Linked DNA regions of Homo sapiens: all the other regions are linked to region 5. The links are contacts of gene promoters, found by promoter capture Hi-C in blood cells and fetal thymus (Javierre and others, 2016). All regions are on one chromosome and are shown on one strand. Each heading gives the region's core, a stretch centred on a gene start or on the middle of the fragment in contact. The rest is flanking DNA. Distances are from core to core; before and after follow the strand shown.

Region 1 (2,700 bases), core at 36-2,535, 260 kb before region 5:
ATCCTAATTTACCTTTAAGAAACATAAATTTTAGCGTTTCTTTATATGGAGACAAAGTTAGTTCCCTGCTGTTTACCAAAAAAAACAAAAAAAAAAACAAAAAATGATTTGTTAGAAACTCAGAAGTATGACTGAGCACGGTGGCTTATGCCTGTAATCCCAGCACTTTGGGAGGCCGAGGGGGCGGATCACCCGAGGTCAGGAGTTCAAGACCAGCCTGGCCAACATGTTGAAACCCCGCCTCTACTAAAAATACAAAAATTAGCCAGGTGTGGTGGGGGGCACCTGTAATCCCAGCTACTTGGGAGGCTAAGGCAGGAGAATTGCTTGAACCTGGGAGGTGGAGGTTGCAGTGAGCCGAGATCATACCACTGCACTCCAGCCTGGGTGACAGAGCAAGACTCCGTCTCAAATAAATAAATAAATAAACAAACTCAGAAGTATCTTTGGTATTTATTCAATTCAGCATTATCCAATGAACTTTCTGCAATGATAGGAATGTTCTTTGTCCGTACTGTCCAATATAGTAGCCCTTAGCTGCCAGTGGCCACTGAGCACTTTATATGTGGTTGAGGTGACTGAGGAAGCCAATTTTTAACTTAGTTAATATTACTTTTTAATGTAAATAGCCACATGGGGCTAATAGCTTTTGTATTGGACAGCACAGTATAGTGGAAGGAACCCTGGTTTTGACACATAAGGCTTGGGAAGAGATTAAACTCAGGAAACACCTGAGGTTTGGGCTTCTAGTTCTAGACCCACTCCTGTTATTCCTAATTAAAATATGAATAATAGACCAGGCGTGGTGGCTCCTGCCTGTAATCCTAGCACTTTGGGAGGCCGAAGTGGGCAGATCACGTGAGGCTGGGAGTTCGAGACCAGCCTGGCCAACATGATGAAACCCTGTCTCTACTGAAAATACAAAAATCAGCTGGGCGTGGTGGTGGGTGCCTGTAATCCCAGCTATCTGGGAGGCTGAGGCAGGAGAATTGCTTGAACCCGGGAGGCAGAGATTGTGGTGAGCCGAGATGGTGCCACTGCACTCCAGCCTGGGTGACAGAGCGAGACTCTCTCTCAAAAAAAAATATGAATAATAGCACTAATATAGCATTTCCTTACACCAGGACCCTGCTCTAAGTGCTTTACACTTACTAACTAACTAATTTAATCTTTGTAATACTCTTATGGGTTTGGGAACATTATTATTGTCCCTGTTTTATAAATGAGAAAATAATGATTTGCCCAAAGATACAAGACTGGTAAAATGATCAAGCTAGAATTGATACCCAGGAAGTCTGGATAAGATATTCAGCCATTTAACCTCTCTGAGCCACATTTTTACCCTAAGTTAAACACACACACACACACACACACACACACACACACACACACACCTACCTCAATATTTATGCATTTTTATAAAATAAAATTAAACACTCTCAGCAAACACTTTGAGAATGTTGTTGATAGTCACATAATTTAAGTTAATTTCATCTTGAAAATACAGATTGCTAAAAAAAGATTTTAATTTTAAATTATACGAATGTATTATTACTCTTATGGCCATTGAGCCTTATTCATTATAGCACATGATGGAGATAGAGGGAGTGTATATCCATAGAGATCACCCATTTGAATTTCACTTGGGAGTGGGAGAAATTGACATCTCACTGGATATTTGTTAGTTGATCAGCAACAAATAATTATTACTCTTTGTACTTGCTCAACACTGTAGATACAGTGTATTCGTTTGCTTTGCTGAGTAACAAATGACCCCAAAAGTTAGAAGTGTGAAACAACAATCATGTTTCACATGATCAGTTTAGCTCAGAATTCTCTAGGTTGGCAGATTGAGCTGGGCTTGGCTGGGTGGTTCTTCTGGCCTCACTGGGGCTCACTCATGACTGCAGTCAGCCATCAGTCAGCATCCTTAATTGCTTGTCTGGTCATTGGCTTCCTACTGGCTGGACAACAGGTATTTGGGCCACATGTCTTTTATCCTGTAGAAGACTAGCCTGGGTTTATTTATATGGTGGTGGTCACAGGGTTCCTAAGAGCAGCAAGAGTGAAAGCATCATGGCCTCTTGATGCCTAGGCTTAGAACGTGCACAGACTCATGTTCACTTACATTCTATTAGCCAAAGCAAGACACAGAGCCAGCTCAAGTTTGAGAAATGTGAAAACAGACTCCACCCCTTGATGAGAGGAACTGTAAATATCGTGGCCATTTTTGTAATCCACCATATTTGGTAAAGACCATAATCACACAATCCCTCCATCATAGAACTTTCAGCCTGATGGTCACAGTACAGGTTTGAATATTGGACATTTTCTGAAGGTTTGTTGTTGCTGCTTTTAGGCCTGAACAAGAGATGAAATTGTCTTATTATCTCTAATTTAAAAGATAGTAAAGGGCTGAGTGCAGTGGCTCACATTTACAGTCCCAGTACTCTGGGAGGTGAGGTGGATGGATCACTTGAGCCCAGGAGTTTGAGACTAGCCTGGCCAACATGGCAAGACCCCATCTCTACAAAGTATACAAAAATTAGCCGTGCGTGGTGGCATGCGCCTGTAGTCCCAGCTACTCGGGAGGCTGAGGTGGGAGAATTGCTTGAGCCCTGGAGGTCAAGGCTGTAGTGAGCCAGGATTGCACCACTGCACTCCAGGCCGGGTGACAGAGACAGACCCTGTCTCAAATAA
Region 2 (2,700 bases), core at 32-2,531, 500 kb before region 5:
GGTTTTCAAATGGGGAGTTTCCCTGCACAAGCTTTCTTGTCTGCCACTATGTGAGATATACCTTTCACCTTCTGCCGTGATTGTGAGGCCTCCTCAGCCACGTGGAACTGTAAGTCCAATAAACCTCTTTCTTTTGTAAATTGCCCAGTCTTGGGTATGTCTTTATCAGCAGTGTGAAAACAGATTAATACAGAGCATTTTCTTTAGAAAGCTTTTCACTGTAAATTCTTTCTCTGTCTTGAGATATCTGTAACTCTTTTTAATAGCCTCTTACTAGTTTTACAAACCAGAATCATCTTTGTCAAGGACCTGGGAGCCATTCCTTTGAAATGCAATCATCAAGGAAGACGGTCCCCCTATCTCCCAGTTTCTGTGGGAGGGTAGGAGCCTAACTTCCCTGAGAGCCAATTAGCAAACACAGCTGGCCTAATCACGGAGGAAACACTTGTAAACTCAGCAAACAACTCAGTATGCTTCCGACAGCCCTCCAGCACCTTTCTACTCTCATCCTAGAGCTTAAAAACCCTGCCCCACTTTGTTTCAGCAGAGTTAGTTTAGACTGAGTTCTGGTCTCTCTTCCCTAGGACAACAGCTTTGCATAAAGTATTCCTTACATATGTGACTTTCTCTGGTGTAATTTATGCTTTCACAAAGGAAAACTAAGACAAATTAAACTACCTATAATCACTGAACTTCCACAGCCCCTTCTGCCATTTATGGAACACTTAACATGTTCTCGCAATGTAAGTATCAGGACTGCCCTCTGAGTTGGATACAATAGCATCCTTTCCTCTTATAGTTATTTTCAGATATAAGCCTTAGGAAATGGAGGCTTAGAGAAACCAAGCAATTTGCCATAGGTCACAGCAAATAAATTCTGGACTAGTCAGGACTAGGGACAAGGCATTTGCCTCCAAAGTCAGTGCGTTCAAGCACTTTGCATAGCCAATATAAAATTCCTAACAGTGCTTCTATTTGATTTGATTGTGTGTATGTGTGTGTGGGTGTGTGTGTGTTGGCGGGGGGATGAGGAAGTCTCTGGAGGATTTATATGCGTGAGTTTTGTTTGGGGGTCGCCCTTTTGGGCTCTGCGCGCCCATCGCGGCTAGCGGGTGGGCCTCCCGGGCGTCGGGGAGCAGCTGCAAGCGCAGGGGGACGCCGGCAGAAGAAGGACGCGCCAGGACTCCCTAGCACGCACCCTCAGGCCTCGCCGCTGCCGCCTCCGCCTCCGCCGCTGAAGGGCGCGCGTCCACCCGGCGGGACTCCTCCTCCCAACGCCCTCCCCAACCACCAGCCGCCCGCGGGCAGGTTGGCAGCCTGGCCCTCGCGCGGACCCGGCCGGGAGCTGGCTGCACTAGGGCTGGGGGCGCGCAGTGCGCGGAGCGGTAGGAGTCAGCGGTGCGGAAGGCAGGAGGTGCGGGTGAAGCTGTCGGCGGTGCTCGAGGGGAGCACGCAAGAACCTCCTCAGTCCCTCTTCCGCACGTGCGCCCACGAGTGTAGTCCCCAGTTTGTTCCACCTATTATCCCGCAGCTCCAGTGCGCCCCACCTGTTGCCTCACCAGCCCAACGTTACTTCTTCCCTGCTTCCTCGCCAGCCCGTCTGGGGGCGGAGACCTCACCCACCGCCCCACCCACCTCGTCTCATGCTCCCACCCACCTCGTCCCATGCGCACACCCATCTCGTCCCTTGCGCTCACCCACCTCGTCCCATGCGCCCTACCCTATGCCCCAAGTCCCTGAAAGGGCCCCACCTAGGTACCCTTTTGGGTCGTCTTCAGGTTCTTTGCCTTGTCGACCCTCCTGGACGACCCCACATTTCTCCGCCTCTCGCGGGCTTCTCTCTCCCTCGTGTGCCATGGTCACCTTCAGCTGGCCCAGCCGCTGATGACAGAAGTTTAAGAAGATTCATGAGCCGCTGCTCCTCAGGGTCTACTGGAGTTTAGCAGATAACTTCCCAAAGGCCCGGGGTCCTGCAAACCCCTCATGCGGGCCACCCAAAAGATTCCGTCCTGGAGCAGACCCCGCGCCACGCGCGCTGTACTCGCGTTCCTTTTTCCAGCCAGCGCAGCCCTGCGGCTTCTGTCCGGGACGGTTCTGCGCGTGGGACGCCCAGCCCGCTTCATCTGCGCCCGCTGCCTTTACCCGCCAGCCACTCCGGCGTTTCCACCTCCGTGTATTTCTCATGCTCCCCACGTTCTATAATGCTTGCTCCTCTTGGCGCGCCCCACCCCAATTCTCGCATCCAGTGTGGCTTCCTGTTTAGAATCGCAGCTTCTGATTGGATCACAGGCCAAATTCACTCTTCCCTGCAATGCCGGATACGACTTGCTCCAGCTCCGAAGTTAAGCTTTGTCAGGAGAGGGCGCAAGAGGAACACTGCAGGACAAGGAGTTCTCTTCCTGGTTGGGGAAAAATCCAGGACTGTATAGAACATCCTCCGCCCCAAACTGGGAAAGGAGCCAACAGACCAAAGAATGACTCAGACCAGTCCAGCTTGATGAGTAGATGAGTTTATTGGGACTCACGTGTAGGGCATTTCTTTTTTTTTTCTTTTTCTGTTTTTTTTTTTTTTTTAAGAGGGAATCTCATGGCACCTCGTTTTCATCATCACTGGATGATTTCTCTGGGTTAGCAAAGGTCAGGAAGACTTGTTCCAGTGTGATCTGACAGAATAGTCTTCTAAATCAAATTGCTCTTTAG
Region 3 (2,700 bases), core at 179-2,678, 290 kb before region 5:
TCTCTGGGTGCCTCACTGTCTGCTATTTGTTCCTTTAATCCTATCCATATCTCACCCCTGCAAGTAATCCTTAAAGTATCTTTCTTTGAACATGGGAGTGAATTCTATTTCCTGCCAGAATCCTCCCCTTACACTCTAAATGGTCCCACAAATACAACTCTTATTCAACCTAATTTCATGAGTGCCTACTATTTGCTAATGATTGTATTATTCTATGGAATATAATATATTGGGATATATATATAGGAATTTATTTATATGAAATATGTATGGAATTTACATATATACACACACACATACACACAGCTAGTCACTGACTTACGATGGTTCAACTTACGATTCTTTGACTTTCTGATGGTGTGAAAGTGATATGTTGAGTACCCATACAACCATTATGTTTTTCACTTTCAGTACGGTATACAATAAGTTACATGGGATAGTCAACACTTTATTATAAAACAGGCTTTGTCTTAGATGATAACTGTGGACTAATGTGAGTGTTCTGAGTGCATTTAAGATAGGCTAGGCTAAGCTCTGATGTTCAGTAGGTTAGGTGTATTAAATGAATTTTCAATTTCCAGTATTTTCAAATTGCAATAGGTTTATAGGGATGTAACCCCATTGTAAGTCAAGGAGCAGTTGTTTGTATGTGTGTGTGTTGTGGGGACATGAAAGTACTTTGGAAACTATAATGTACTTAGCAATTATAAGAAATTAGAAACAATAATAATAGTAATATTTTAAGGTAATCACTGAGCTTACATGCAGTTGCCCTCTGGGAGGAATTCAAAACTGCTTTCATCAGAGATTTCTATGTGAGTATAGTATTTGGAGCTTCAAAAAGAATTTAATGATGTGAAAAGGCACTTAGCAGCACCTAATTGCATGTACAACAGAAGAATAATAAGCATTGCCTCTCTCCCCCATCATTTCATCCAACTCAGTGGTAGGTTCCGTGGTTCTGGAAGTTATGTGATATTTACACGATGGATGACTCAGGGATGTGAGCTGCTGCTCTCTGCCATAAAAGGGCAAAGGAAAACACTTTGGCACCCTGGAGGAAGAAGGGAAGACATCTTAGGGAGAGCACCCGACATTGTGTTTCACCAAAGCCTAAGGATTCAGATAGAACACGGTTCCTTGCTTATAGTGGATGTTCACCATTTTAATGAGTGAATGAATGAAATGTTTTTACACTAAGGATATTCTTGAAAATGAACACTGACCAGAGTCTAAAATTACAGCTTATTACAAAACAAAAATAAAAAGCTGAGAAAAGGAATGGAGGCCGGAATATGTGGCTCATGCTTGTAATCCCAGCACTTTGGGAGGCCAAGGTGGGCGAATCACCTGAGGTCAGGAGTTCGAGACTAGCCTGGCCAACATGGTGAAACCACATCTCTATGAAAAATACAAAAATTAGCTGGGCATGGTGGCGGGCACCTATAATCTCAGCTACTTGGGAGGCTGTGGCTGGAGAATCACTTAAAACTGGGAGGCAGAGGTTACAATGAGCCGAGATTGTGCCACTGCACTCCAGAAAGAAAGAGATAAAGAGAGAGAGAGAGACTCAAACCACTTGAAAATTAATTCTCTAAATCATGTTTAAGAAAAAAGCAACTTTAAAACTGCCATAACAGAATTAAGCATTCTTAGGATAACCAAATTTATGAAATGTCACTATAGCTGATCTCAATGACAAGTTCCCTTATTTGTTTGAAGAGTATTGATTATTTGCCATGTATCAGATGGTCTAACTGCTGAAGACACTAAAAGGAATTAAGGAGACAAGAAACATATTTATTTCCTTGAACAGGGCTGGGTAAAAATTAATAAATAAGTAAAAATCAACTATTTATAGAGTTTACATTTTAGTGAATGTGAGCAAACACTTATGTATTGACTATTGTATACCAGGCTCAATTCTGAGCTTTTTTTTGTTATTGTTGTTCTTATTGACTTTAACTATTAAGCTGGCATTTTTTCTATCCTTGTTTTATCTACCCGAGGCACAGAGAGTTTAAGTGACTTTCCCAAGACTACATAGCTACTAAGTGGCAAGGTGGGAATTTGAAGCTAGCTTGTTTGTCTCAAGACCCTGTCCACTTCACACTATATTATTCTACCTCATTAGAAAAAGGGAGCAGTTCTCATTGAGACCTGCTTTGTTGATAATATGGATGAAGTTGATAAATCTTTGGAAAGGTCTCTCCTGGTCACTGTAGCTACAGTAGCCCTCCACTTCCGTCTGCTAGTCATTCTGCCCTATTTTATTTTCTTCAGAGCATTTATTACTAACAGAAATATTTTATTGTTTGTCCTGTCTATGGATTTATTCATCCATTCATCCAACCATCCATCCATTCATCCATCCATCCATCTGTCCATCCATCCATCCATCCATCCATCCATCCATCCATCCATGTCTATTGTCTAGGTCTCCCTCAGTTAAAATAGAAGCTCCATGAAGGTAGAGAACTTAATAGCATACTTCGCAAATATATTCCTGATGCCTAGGGCAGTTATAGAATATATTAGGCACTCAATAATAAATGTCTAATGGCTGAATGAATAAACAGTATGTATACGTGTACATATATCTTATACGTATTTACCTGTACAGGAAAATATCTGGAAATGTTTAACCACCAACAGGCTCACAACAGCTCGATTTCTGGGAGGTGGTCTTATAGGTAGTTT
Region 4 (2,700 bases), core at 69-2,568, 330 kb before region 5:
TGGTGGTTTGTTTATGGAAGAGATACTATTACTATCTGACCAATGGAATTCGCAAAGACATGATTGCCCCTGAGGAGGGTGAAGTGATGGTTCGGATTTCAAAGCTGATTTCTAACACGCTGCTGACGAGTCCCTTCCTGGAGCCCCTGATGGTGGTCCTCGTGCAGGAGAAGGAGAATGACTATTACTGTAGCCTCATGAAAAGCATCGGTAAGGCTGGTGGGCATAAAGGGGGCTGGGGAGCTTCTATGTAGAGGGCACCTTCTTTTTTATTTTTATTTTTGTAGAGACAAGGTCTTGCTTTGTTGCTCAGGCTGGTCTGGAACTCCTGGGCTCAAGCAATCCTCCCTCCTTAGCCTCCCAAAGTGCTAGGATTACAGGCATGAGGCACCATGCCTGGCCTGGAAGGCATCTTCTTTCTTCTCACTTTGTCATTTGCCACCCTGATTCCACTGGAAATACCCAAAACATCATTTAACCGCTAATTCAAAGTCCTGCATCCCCCTACCATCACTGATGTCTACACCAGCACTTCACATATTCACGTGCATCCCTGTAACCTGCAGATCTTAAAATGCAGATTGCGATTCAGTAGATCTGAACCTGGGGCCTGAGATTCTACATTTGTAAGTTTAAAACAATTTTTTTTTTTTTTTTTTAGCGACAAGGTCTCCCTATGTTGCCTAGGCTTGTCTTGAACATCCTGGACTCAAGAGATCCTCCTGCCTCGGCCTCCCAAAGTGCTGGGATTATAGACATGAGCCATCACACCTGGCTGAGATTCTACACTTCTTTTTTTTTTCTTTTTTGAGACAGTCTTGCTCTGTCGCCCAGGCTGAAGTGCAGTGGTGTGATCTCTGCTCACTGCAACTGCAGAGGTTGGTCAGGATTTCAAGACCTACCTGGGCGGACCCCTGGGTTCACGCAATTCTCCTGCCTCAGCCTCCTGAGTAGCTGGGACTACAGGCACGCACCACCACTCCCAGCTAATTTTTGTATTTTTAGTAGAGACAAGGTTTCGCCATGTTGGCCAGTCTGGTCTCGAATTCATGACCTCAAGTGATCTACCCACCTCAGCCTCTCAAAGTGCTGGGATTACAGGTGTGAGCCACCGCACCCAGCCTGCTACTTGTTCTTTATGACCCAGCACAAATGTTACATCCTCTATGAAGCTTTTCTACCAACCTTTCTTAGTATGGAAAACATTTGGTCTTTAAACTTCTATTTGTAAATATAATGGATGGTATCATCCATGGTGGGTTTTTTTGTGTGCATCTATTTTGGTGTGAGAAATCAATCAGTGACTAATGAGTTATCAGCAAATCCTATTTCATTGTCCTGCCTGATACTAGACATCCTACCAGGGCTCAACCCCAGATTCTAAGTGCTCCACACCGTGAAGTCACACTCCTCCTTTCTGTAAAATACCCTCAGAAAGAAAACAAACACCAAGAGTGAAGCTTCACCAGTTGAATTATACCCAGGGGATTACCCATGACCTTGCAAATGGACAGAGGCTCATTTATATTCTAAGAGTTGAAGCTAAGGCCAGGTGTGCTAGCTCACACCTATAATCGCAGCACTTTGGGAGGCCGAGGCGGGTGGATCACCTGAGGTCAGGATTTCAAGACCAACCTGGCCAACATGGCAAAACCCTGTATCTACTGAAAATACAAAAAATTAGGCAGGTGTGGTGGCAGCCACCTGTAATCCCAGCTACTCAGGAGGCTGAGGCAGGAGAATGGCTTGAACCTAGGAGGCGGAGGTGGAGGTTGCAGTGAGCTGAGATTGAACCATTGCAATCGAGCCTGGGCGACAGAGCGAGACTCCATCTCAAAAAATAAATAAATAAATAAATAAAAAGAGTTGACTCTAAGGCCAGGCATAGCAACTCATGCCTGTAATCCCAGCACTTTGGCAGGCTGAGGTGGGAGGATCACTTGAGCCCAGGAGTTTGAGACCAGCCTGGCCAACTTAGTGAGACCCCGTCTCTATATTAAAAACAAAACTAAATGAGTTGAAGCTAAGAGCACAACCCTTAGAGCTTAATAATGAGGTGTTCGCCCTTTCCGGTTGTAGTTGATTACATCCTCATGGACCCAATGGAGAGAAAACGGCTCTTTATTGAGAGCATCCCCCGCTTGTTTCCTCAAAGAGTGATCCGGGCCCCTGTGCCCTGGCACAGTGTCTACAGGAGCGCCAAGAAGTGGAACGAGGAGCATCTGCACACGGTGAACCCCATGATGCTCAGGCTGAAAGAACTGTGGTTTGCAGAGTAAGAAGTCCCTCCCTTTTTTTTTCATTCCCTTTCTTGACCACATCCACGTGTAAGCAAGCCTATTCTGCTGTGCACAGTGGGGGTAGCCCTGACAGCATAGAGAAATGAAAGAAAAAAAAATCTAGGCCAAATATGCATGTGAATTATAAGTGACACCTTTCCTTGCAGGCTTACGTGGCCCTCCTTTGTGTCCCCAGGGCACCCTGTGCCTGTCTCTAAGCACTGGAATATCCTGCTTAATTGCACAGACTTGGAGCCAGCCTGCTCAGGTCTAACTCCTAGCTCTGCTGCTTTACAGGCATATATGTGGTCGCATCACTTTTCTGTGCCTTGCTTCCTTTACCTCTAAATTTGCGATAATGTTAATAAGAGTTTCCACTTCATAGGATTGATAAGAGGAATAAATAACTTACTACATCCAA
Region 5 (2,700 bases), core at 46-2,545:
TTTGTTTTGTTTTTTGTTTTTTTTTTTTAAGAGATGGGGTCCTTGCTATATTGCCCAGGCTGGTCTTGAATTCCTGGCCTCAAATGATGCTCCCGCCTTGGCCTCCCAAACTGCTGGGATTACAGGCGTGAGCCACTGCACCCGGCCCACCATCCCAGTTTTTTTTTTTTTTTTTTTTTTTCTGAGACGTGATTTCTTTCTTGTTGTCCAGGGTGGAGTGTAATGGCGTGGTCTTGGCTCATTGCAACCTCTGGTTCCTGGGTTCTAGCGATTCTCCTGCCTCAGCCTCCCAAGTAGGTGGGATTACAGTCACCCACTACCACGCCTGGCTAATTTTGTGTGTGTGTTTTTGGTAGAGACGGGGATTTCTCCATGTTGACAAGGCTGGTCTCGAACTCCTGACCTCGTGATCCGCCCGCCTCGGCCTCCCAAAGTGCTGGAATTACAGGCATGAGCCACCGCACTCGGCCGACTCACTATCCCAGTGACAGCCAATGACAGCCTTGTTGCAGGAAGGTGGTATTACACTCATTCCCATTTTAATGATCAGGGATCAGGTTCGGAGAGGCCAGGGCGGAGAGCCCGCCCGAATCCAGTGCCCCCGACGGCGGTTGGGCGAGGGTCCGGGAGCTCCAAACCGCCTAGGGCCGCCTGCTCGGGATCCCCGTTGCTCACCTTGGCCTCGGGCTGACTCTCCTCGAGATCCCAACCGGCTTTCATCGCCTCAGCTGCCCCGACCAGCTTATTTGGGGCCTGCCTGCTTTCCCTGACCTTCCTGGGGTGTCTCTCGGTCCCTTCCCTCTCTGGCTCCATGGCTGTGGAGAAAGATGAGGTAGAGCTGGGGAAACTCCAGCGCCCCTATTCCCCCGCGTGCCGCCTCCTAGCGGGAGAGCTACACGGGCTTGACAGCTTTCAACCTCCCTCGGATCCGCTTCTCAATTCAGTTTACCGAACTATCCCCGTTCCCCTAAAAAAGCGAAGGTGCCAACGATCTCCCCGTTCCGCGGACTGGACACCCGCGCCGCTCTAACCCAAACGGCTTTACCGTCCGCATCGGTTACCGGATTCTCAACGGTTCCCCAACGGCTACAACGGGCGTCTGCCTGGCAAAGAAGGAAGGTGCTGCCGAGCGGCTTCGCCGCCTAAAACCACTCCCCACGCCCCCTAGCCCGGGAAACGCAGAAGAGAAGACGGGCGGGGAGCAGAGGTTCTCCCCTCCTTAGCCACAGCTGCCAACAACAACCGCCCCTCAGCCTCGCGGGCTTTTTGAACGGACCGGAAGTAGAAGTCGAGCGACTTCCGGCAGCTGGACTTGGAAAAGCAAGGAGTGTCGGGAATGGCGACCAAGCGGCTCGCGCGGTACTCGAGGGAGTTCCGGGTCGGGGGCGGGTAGCTCCGGGTCCAGCGCTGGCGTTGGCCGCAGAGCAGGGCACGGCAGGTGGCATCTGCGGTGAGGGCCTCTATTCCCCGCAGCCCCGGCGTCTGCGACCTGCCCTCTCTGGCACGGTTGGAAAGGCGCCTCCCTGGACCTCGGTCTTCAGCCTTGGGCCACCTTCTACCCGAGGGTGACAGGAGCCCGAGGCGGACGAACCCTGGGGCCTTGACTGTGTGGCCTTGAGCCAGTGCCTGCCTATTTTAGGCCTTGGGAAACGACTGGACGTGACAGTGCCCTGCAGACTGGTTGGAGGTCTCAGGCAGGCCACACACTGAATCTGTCAAGGTGTTCAACCTGTTCGAAATGCTCGTTCCTCGGTGCTGTAAAGAAATAGAACTTAAACTTAAATTTAATTTATTTAGTAAGGCCATTTTTACTTCCTGCAGAAAGGGTACACTCGCCAGCAGTTTTGCCAGGAGAGTACACTGAACAAAGGAGACAGGGTCATTTATAACGTGGCGCGTCCACCCTACTGCTGTGTCCGGTTTCCTTTGGCTGGAACGGGACCTCACATTCTGTATTTGTCCCGACTGACTAGCAACATAGAACTTTTTAAAAGAGGCAAAGGCAGAGGAGAACAAAGGAAGAAGGAAGTAACTTGTGGAATGCTGAGAAAGGTAAAAACACTTTTAAGTAAGGAAGAGGAACAGGCTATGACCTAATGTTTGATTGGACCAGTATAAGCATGCCAGGGCAAATATTTAGGCTAAATTGTGGGAGCTAAGAACATAAAGTACATTGATTTCTTTATTATATCTAGCAGATATTTAAGAATGTTAGCACAGGTCTTTGAATAAATTTTGCTCTAAGAGAAGTTACTATTTATTCCTAATTAGACGGGGAAGGAAGTCTTTGAAGAGGAACCTCTACTTTTTACAAACCCATTTTCTAGTGATCTTTTTTTTTTTTTTTGAGACGGAGTTTTGTTGCCTAGGCTAGAGTGCAGTGGTGCGATCTCGGCTTACCATAACCTCTGCCTCCCGGGTTCAAGTCATTCTCCTGCCTCAGCCTCCCAAGTAGCTGGGATTACAGGCATGCACCACCACACCCAGCTAATTTTGTATTTTTAGTAGAAATGGGGTTTCTCTATGTTGGTCAGACTGTTCTCGAACTCCCGACCTCAGGTGATCCACCCGCCTCAACCTCCCAAAGTGCTGGGGTTACAGGTGTGAGCCACGGTGCCTGGCCTAGTGATCCTTTTAATTCACAATATGAATTATTGTGTCCTCCCTGATTCCTGGATGCGCTGTGCATATTTCTGATTA

What was found. Contacts are between HindIII fragments. The CHiCAGO score rates a contact against its expected background, and 5 or more counts as called.
Region 1: a fragment that was not itself captured here is called in contact with the fragment with the promoter of ERI2 in region 5 in 4 of 17 cell types (monocytes, M1 macrophages, M2 macrophages and 1 more); the score reaches 6.4 in monocytes.
Region 2: a contact is called between a fragment that was not itself captured here and the fragment with the promoter of ERI2 in region 5, in 3 of 17 cell types (endothelial precursors, erythroblasts and monocytes). The highest score is 8.7, in endothelial precursors.
Region 3: a fragment that was not itself captured here is called in contact with the fragment with the promoter of ERI2 in region 5 in 4 of 17 cell types (M2 macrophages, monocytes, endothelial precursors and 1 more); the score reaches 8.7 in M2 macrophages.
Region 4: a fragment that was not itself captured here is called in contact with the fragment with the promoter of ERI2 in region 5 in 4 of 17 cell types (monocytes, M2 macrophages, M1 macrophages and 1 more); the score reaches 5.9 in monocytes.

Annotation. Positions count from the first base shown.
Region 1 is chr16:21,063,555-21,066,254 of GRCh38, reverse strand. All of the region lies in intron 24 of DNAH3 (dynein axonemal heavy chain 3), which reads left to right. Among named protein-coding and RNA genes, the nearest start is that of DNAH3, 86 kb to the left of the region's middle. The HindIII fragment of the contact is 4,788 bases long and covers 1-2,700 here.
Region 2 is chr16:21,300,387-21,303,086 of GRCh38, reverse strand. It overlaps a transcript of CRYM not described here and the pseudogene ABCA15P. Among named protein-coding and RNA genes, the nearest start is that of CRYM, 23 kb to the right of the region's middle. RefSeq lists an enhancer at 111-699 and a silencer at 1,142-1,401. The HindIII fragment of the contact is 2,136 bases long and covers 214-2,349 here.
Region 3 is chr16:21,098,958-21,101,657 of GRCh38, reverse strand. All of the region lies in intron 16 of DNAH3 (dynein axonemal heavy chain 3), which reads left to right. Among named protein-coding and RNA genes, the nearest start is that of DNAH3, 51 kb to the left of the region's middle. The HindIII fragment of the contact is 3,136 bases long and covers 1-2,700 here.
Region 4 is chr16:21,133,834-21,136,533 of GRCh38, reverse strand. It overlaps DNAH3 (dynein axonemal heavy chain 3), which reads left to right. Exons shown (of 62, transcript NM_001347886.2): 7 at 21-210; 8 at 2,080-2,275. Among named protein-coding and RNA genes, the nearest start is that of DNAH3, 16 kb to the left of the region's middle. The HindIII fragment of the contact is 288 bases long and covers 1,175-1,462 here.
Region 5 is chr16:20,805,067-20,807,766 of GRCh38, reverse strand. ERI2 (ERI1 exoribonuclease family member 2) reads left to right here and starts at 1,295. Exons shown (of 9, transcript NM_001142725.2): 1 at 1,295-1,359. The coding sequence starts at 1,337. REXO5 (RNA exonuclease 5) reads right to left here and starts at 1,240. Exons shown (of 20, transcript NM_030941.3): 1 at 1,062-1,240; 2 at 676-815. The coding sequence starts at 813. RefSeq lists enhancers at 436-575, 1,296-1,405, 1,154-2,099. The HindIII fragment of the contact is 22,874 bases long and covers 1-2,700 here.